Regions from separate parts of the Homo sapiens genome. Here region 1 is linked to region 2. The links are contacts of gene promoters, found by promoter capture Hi-C in blood cells and fetal thymus (Javierre and others, 2016). All regions are on one chromosome and are shown on one strand. Each heading gives the region's core, a stretch centred on a gene start or on the middle of the fragment in contact. The rest is flanking DNA. Distances are from core to core; before and after follow the strand shown.

The links. Contacts are between HindIII fragments. The CHiCAGO score rates a contact against its expected background, and 5 or more counts as called.
Region 1: a fragment that was not itself captured here is called in contact with the fragment with the promoter of RBMXL2 in region 2 in 1 of 17 cell types (naive B cells); the score reaches 6.5 in naive B cells.

What each region holds. Positions count from the first base shown.
Region 1 is chr11:8,100,932-8,104,216 of GRCh38, reverse strand. It overlaps TUB (TUB bipartite transcription factor), which reads right to left. Exons shown (of 12, transcript NM_177972.3): 11 at 3,220-3,285; 12 at 1-2,731. The coding sequence ends at 2,598. It also overlaps a transcript of RIC3 not described here. Among named protein-coding and RNA genes, the nearest start is that of TUB, 21 kb to the right of the region's middle. The HindIII fragment of the contact is 1,537 bases long and covers 954-2,490 here.
Region 2 is chr11:7,087,459-7,091,395 of GRCh38, reverse strand. RBMXL2 (RBMX like 2) reads right to left here and starts at 2,398. Exons shown (of 1, transcript NM_014469.5): 1 at 248-2,398. The coding sequence starts at 2,275. The coding sequence ends at 1,097. It also overlaps a transcript of NLRP14 not described here. The HindIII fragment of the contact is 13,917 bases long and covers 1-3,937 here.

The DNA.
Region 1 (3,285 bases), core at 473-2,972, 1.0 Mb before region 2:
AATTCCCTGCCCAAAGACCATCCATCCAGGTAGAGGGTATGAAGGGCAAGAACTCTTATTGTGGGAGAGGCTGAACCCAGGTGGTTTCTAGGGGCCCTAGCAGCTTTACGAGTCCATGCACCCATGGCCCCAGGGCCAGTGGTCAAGGAAAACCAGGATCACCAGGAGTGCACTCAGCTACTGATGCTTGTCATTCAATGCCTGACAGAGTTTTGTGGCTGAGGCTATCCTTCTCCACACTTAGGCTAGAAAGCTCAGCCTGTCTTTCCTGACTCCACCAAAAGATCCAGCCAACTCCCTCTTTGTGCTACAGGAGAAAGCAGAGGCCAAGAGTTTTCCTTTGTGCTTCTGATTTTTCCACTGCCACCGGGGTCTCCGTCTCACCAGAACTCAGAACCAGCCTGTTCTATCTTAAAATCATAGATCCAGAGAAATAGCTTGACCTAACATTAGAGACGATCTAGTTTCCATCATCTCAAATGTCACCATGAAGATCTCTTCTCCTTAAAGGCAGGGAAGGGCTAAACTGGAACTATAGAAAGGAGGATGGCACCATGGTATCTCGCCAGCGCTGGCACAAAGTTCTAGTGCCCTCTAGAAACTGGACCATGTTGCAAAAGCTAATCGTTGGAGGGGGTCTCTCACAGAGATGTACGGCCGAGGTGTGGGCAGATCCTGCTAGGACAGGTATGCCTTGCTTTAAGCATTCAACATAGGAAAATCTAGATTACAAAGAAATGAGAGCATATTACTTCTACTTAAGTCAAAACAAGTCCTTCACCTATAAAGCCTAACACGTTTAAAATACAACTTCTATTTTAAAAAATTTCTACTTAGCTTTTCCAAACATCTACTCTAAAGCAAGGTACGACCCCTGCTTGCTTCCCACCAATTTCAGATCTCTATCTGGGCAAGAAGCCTCCACCAGGGTAAATGACAAATGAGCAAAAGCTTGAGCTTACAGTTCCCAAGCCTGCAGGGTGGATGGTGCCATCCAAGGAGAAATAGCGGTAGTGGAGGGAGTTAGGCTCAGGCCCAGCCCCAGAACCTTTATGCACTCTCTCCCACCTAGACCGAGAAGTGTGCAGCAGCCGTACTAAGGCCTGCTTACTGCTGAGTAGCCCTCGCGGAGGGGCCAGACACAGGCCAATCCTGGATCATACTCACGTGCAAAAAGCCAGACAACTTTCAACAGGGAACTGCCTGATTTCCTACTGGAATGGTTTCAATCTAATTTATCAACTCTGATGCTTCTAAGTCTCTGAATCGGGGGAAGTGGGGAGGGCATGCAGAATGGGCCCCCAGGAGGCCAGAGATACTAGTTTCTTGGGGGACAGTGGGAACAAAGAAATCAAGAGAACTTGAAGTTCTGAATGCTGCCATTAACCAGCTAGGTGACCCAGGGCAAGCCCCATTTTCTGAGTGTGACTCACCTAAAGCAACAAGGTTGTACTAGATTCCTAAGGGTCCTGCCACTGCTGATCTCTTGTGGTTCTAAAATATTCCCTGCTTTATTCACCCTGTCCCATTCCCTCCCAAGAACCTACATGGTTACCAACCATGACTTGGCTGACAGCAGTGAGAAAGTTGGGTCTTTCCAGAGAGAGAGAGAGAGGAGAGATTCTTCAAGGAGCATGCCATGGCTTGGGAATGGTTCTCTGGCAGCAGGATTCCCAGGCATGCCTAGCTGTGTGCAGTCAGGCTGGTGACCTGGACCCCATTTGTGTTTCCTGGGGGTTGTGCTGGGCTGCTCAGCAGAGAGCTCCTGGGGAAGCTGACAGGACTCCCAGAACAACCCTGATCCAGGGACCCTGTTCATGCACTTCTGCATGCTGAGCCTGTGTCTTGCAGGGCCCATCCACCAAGACAGCCCTGAGAGCTGGGTTCCTACTGCCTCTGTGAGACACAGCAAACCTGGAGAAATCAAATGCGCTAGAAACCTAGCCACCAGCTGATTCCCATAGCCACAGCAAGCCAGGCACCTGCAATCCTGACAGGGTCCTGCCACTTACCTGTCCCCACCACCCTCCCAACTTCTCTCAGGCTTGAGTGAGGCCTTCTGAAGTTGAAGGGCTTTCTGCAGTTGTTTAAGGGCCAGGCTTGGCCACCAAGCCCTTTGCTACATAAAGTTGATGTGGCCTTCATACATACACACATTCACTGTGCCCCTACCTGCTGGAGTACCCATTGCCATCTGACTCCTTGGCTGAGCGGACGACTGGGCCACAGCAGCCCTGCAGTGTGCTTCCTCTCCCTCTATGCCTCTTGCGGCCTTCCCAGCTGAAGAGGTTGCTCAGCTTGGTAAGTACGACTACAACACACTACTACCCCAAGGGTGGGAGTGTGTGTTGATCTCGTGGCATGGAAAGAATTATTCTCATCCCTTCACACCCACCCACCCGCTCTCCACTACTCCCCTGCCTCAGTAGCAGAGGCAAAGGAGCCAGTTCCTGGCTGGCTGGGCCAGGGAGCCCACTGAGGGCCAAAGCTTCATCTGGCGGAAGGCCTATATACAGAGGATAGGCAGGGCTGTCTCCACAGGCAGGCAGGCAAGCTCCGCTCCAGGCTGGGCAACCCCAAAGGGCACGAAGAGGCCTCTACTCGCACGCCAGCTTGCTGTCGAAGCTGGACAGGGCAATGGCAAAGGCCTGCAGTGCACACAGCGGGTAGTTGTAATCCATGGTGAACACATCCTCTGCTACCCGGCCAAACTGCATCACGATGTAGTCCGCTGGGGCCAAGCACAGGCACAGACAGAGAAAAGGACAGGACAGGAATGGTAGAGCCAGGGAAGGATAGACAGACACCCAAACCACATGAGGGAAGAACAAGTGAGAAGCAGAGATGCCAGGGGAATCACAAAGGGAAGTAAAACAAAGGCCAATTGGGAGAAGTGGCAGGAAAGAGGTGGCAGATGGCAAAGGACAAAGTAAGATGCATGTGAACACCAGGGGACAGAAAAGAGGAAAAGTCCTTTTAAAGGGTGTTCCCGTGCCTGAGACTCCGTTGAATACACAGAATCTAGGACCAGGGCTGCAAAGAAGGTTCTTCCAGGACCTCCCAGTCATTAGGGTTAGAAAGTTCCATACATCTAACCTTAGCTGTATAGCTCACATTCTTAAACTCTAGCCAGTGTAGGCAGGGCTAGGTGGGCTGAACCCTACGCTAAGGGCCTTGGGTATCCTACGGACCATAATGAGTAGGGACAGAAACACTCACGGTCATTGCCATGGATGATCTGGAAGTTCTTCACGGAGGCCTGTGTGACGCGCCCATGGAAGTTGA
Region 2 (3,937 bases), core at 1,149-3,648:
AAAACTAGGAAACAACCCATCCAACCCCTCGCCTTTTGTGGACAGGAAAACCAGCCCCTTCATGCCAGTTTGAGATCCTCAGAGGTTGAAACGCCAAGCTCTTTCAGGGATTCTCTGACCTTTGCTCCTGAGCTCTGAAGCTGCTCACTTTTGATTCCTCCACCCCTAAGGGAAGAAGCTCAATTCTCTCCACAGGACTCAGTGGCTGGCTCTAGAGCCAAAGGCAAGTAGCTTGGAGTTAGGAATGGAAGCCATTACGGTCCCCAAGTCGACCACTGATTTATTTTCTACTTGTTTCTTAATAAATTTGTTGGTAGTGAAAATGAATGCTATCAATTGAAGGATTTGGGATTTGCTTGTTTTGTAGCTTTGTGGTTGGTTGGCCAAACCTTTGATATAGTATTCCACTGTTGTTCAAAACATAGATAGTACTTTTGGGAGTGAGGGGACAGGTGATCCTGTAGATTCCCAAAGAAAAAGCAAAAAGGCAAAACATGGCCAACATTATCCATTTACTTTTCAGATTTACTGAGTGAAAATAATTTTCTTTACATAAACATTTGATCTAAATCACTTTTGTTGTTGTTGTTGCTGGTTGTTTGCTTTTTAATACTGGAAACAAAGATTCAGTTTGAAAGATACCCTGAAATCTTAAGAGTAGCATACACCAATCCCTCCCACTCTCCACCCAAAATCTAGTTGGTTTAAATGAGCAGAATGATCCGTTTTTCCATTTTAGGTGAGCAGATGTTTATCAAAGATCTTAGAACTGTTTGCCTCATTTATCAAGAAAATTTACAAGGGAAGAAGCCATTAATCGAATTTCTACTTGTAAATGTAAGAAGACTAGTACTCAGGTTCATATACTTTTAACAGGAGCTTGTTGAAAGAAACGTTAACAATTCCAAAACTAAACTAAACGAATTTTAAGTTTTTTCTCCCAAAAGCATAAAAATGGAGACGATCTTAACAGGAAATTCTTAAAAGGTAAAAACAACTCTTCCTTGTACTAGTCCTTGGGTAGTTACCATACAACAGGTTCTTCTTTTTGTTAGTTTCGTTGAAAAGGGATTTTTGGTCCCAAGTCTGTTCCTGCTTAGTATCTGCTCCGGCCTCCTCCTCTCTCCAAGCGGCCTCCTAGACGGCCTCCGCCCCTGGGCACCCTGCAGCCTGACCGGCTGTAAGAATCACGCTGGGGAGGGCAGCCCCTTTCCATGGACAGAGAGAGCCCACGATCTGGTCTGCCCACCCGGTGTCGGCCCCTCGAGTAGCGGTCGCTCCGGCCATAACTGCTGCTGTAACTGTCGCGGCCGCCGCTGTAGGCATCGGGTGAGTAGCCCCGGTACTCCTCGTAGCGGCCTCCTCCTCCGTAAGATGGCGGTGTCCCCCGTCCTGGGGCGGCGCCGCGCAGCTCTCCGTAGCTCTCAAAGGGCTCTCGATGGGAGCCTCTGCTCAGATGATCCCCGTAGTCACGGTCGCGACCTCCGTAGCCGTCTCGGTCGCTGTAGCCTCTCAAGGGACAGTCGTCCCGGACACTGGAGTGGCCGTAATCGCGGTGGGTGTACTCTCCGGGCGAGGGGGCAAAACCCCGGGGTTCGCGGTAGTCTCGGCTCGAGTAGCCGTCTCTGGACGAGTAGCCCTCATCCCGCGGGCCCAGGTAGGGGTCGCGGCGCGGGGGCAGCGGCTCCCGGCGCGGTGGGCCTGAGTAGCCGTCTCGCCCCCGCACGGCCAGGGCCCTCCCGCGCATTCCACCGCCGCTGCTGCGAGCCGGGCCCGACGGCGCGGCCCTCTTGGGGGGTGGGCCGACCCTGCGCGGCGGCGGCCCACGCTTCATGGGCATCGGGGCCCTGGAGGGCCGCAGGTCGAAATCCGCCGTGTAGCCGCCGTCATCATCGGGCCCGCCCCGGGATGGGGAACGCCGCGGGCCGCCGCCACCCCCGCGGGTTCCGCGCAGGAACCTCGGGCGACCGCGGCTGCGGGGAGGCGGCGGGCCCCGCCGGCTGCTCTCGAACGCCGGTTTGGTGGCCTGGGCCACCTTGATGGCCTTACCATCCAGGGACTTGCCGTTCATGTCTCTGGCGGCGGCCTTGGCGTCTGCGGGGCTTTCAAAGGTGACGAACGCGAAGCCCCTCGACTTGTTGGTTTCTCGGTCTTTCATCAGGAGCACCTCGACGATGCGGCCATACTTGCCAAACTCGGCTTCGAGGGCTTTCTCGTCGGTTTCGAGGTTGAGGCCCCCAATGAACAGCTTCCCCGGGCGATCCGCTTCAACCATGTTTGCCGGTCGAACGGTCGGTCAGTGGCGGTGGGAGGCGGTGAGGCGGCGCCAGTCGCAGCCTTCGAGCTCGCTCGTCGAGGGCGGCTCCTACTGGTCAGGCGGCGCCTAGTCGCCGAGTCCACGGAACCGCAGCCGGAGCCCCGCTGCAGGGCGCGCCCCTGCTGCCTGTGATTGGTCGGCTGTTTCCAGAGGGCCAATTCGCCGTCGGGAAAGTCGGCAGTTTTGTGTCTCCTTTTCAGTCTTTAACTTCCTGTTCACCTGACCCGGTCTTAACGGCTTCAATGGCCTCCTGAAAGCTCAGGGAAAAGCCGTTAGGTGGAAAAAAATTTTTTTCTATTAGTTTTAATGAGAACAATTGTAATGATCCCAAACCTAAGCTACCCAAACCATTTTCAAACAGAAAAAAATAGTATGAATTTTTTAAATTACTAAAATTATTAAGTTAAAAATCATTTTTCAATTATTGAAAAATAGAGTAATAACAGTTAACAAGTTTAAATTTTACCTTACTGATCTTTTTAAACTAATCAGCTTTTAGCCTCGTCTATCCTCTGTTTTGATTTTATTTGGTGCTATTGTCTTTATTCTTTCTACATTTATTGGATTTATTGTTTATATTATTTTGTTCTAATTTTTTAAATAAGACACTTAGCACATTAAGAGTTTAAAAAATGTTTCTTCTAATTGTTATATTTAAGGTTAAAACTTATTCTCTATGCACTGGTTAATATCATGCCTTGAGCTGTAATATATGTTGTTTTCATTGTTGTTCAGTTCCTAAGATTTTCTCATCTTTGTTATTTCCTTTTTGGACCATGTATTAAAGAAGTATGTTTGTAAATTTTCAAACATATGTGCCTGTTGGTTATTTTTTAATATGCTCTGTACGATATCCATTGTTTTTCGTTGAGACTTGCTTTGTGACCTAATATGGTGTAATTAATGTTCCATATATACTGAGCAGAAAGTGTATTCTCTAAATGTTGGACAAAGTTCTTTCTTATTTTCTGATATTTAAATCTTCCCTTTTCTAACTTGTTTTTTATTTGATAGAATTGCCAAACACTAGAACTGTCTTAAAATTTACCATAATTGTGGATTTGTAAATTTCTCTTTGTCTTTATGTCTGGTTTTTGCTTCATGTAATTTAAGGTTATATTGTGAGATATATAAAAATTGAGAATTGCTACGTATTTCTGGTGAATACCTTTTTTATGTAATGATCCTCCTTATTCGTAAAAACCTTTTTACCTTAGTCCATTTTGTGTGATGCTTATAACTTTCGGTACTTTTGCAATTTCTTCCTAAATCTTTGCTATCAGCCAAACCTTTCCTTCTTCCTTTTTTCCATCTTTCTTGCCTTTTCTTGTAGTAAGTGATTTGTCTTTGTTTCTTTTTCCTCCACTATGGAAGAAGTTATGCCTTCTATTTCTACTTTTTCGAATGACTGCCCTTAATGTTTTTATTGAATGCTAACTTAAAAATGCTAAGTTTATAAATTTACTTATAAAATCAAGTTTACTGCTTAATTTTACGTGTGTATATCCATGTAACCATGACCCACATTAAAATCTATAACATTTCCATCACTCCAGAGGGTTCACTTGTGCCACTTACTAATCAAACCTAACTGAGATATGCTCTCCTGGCACAATAAGA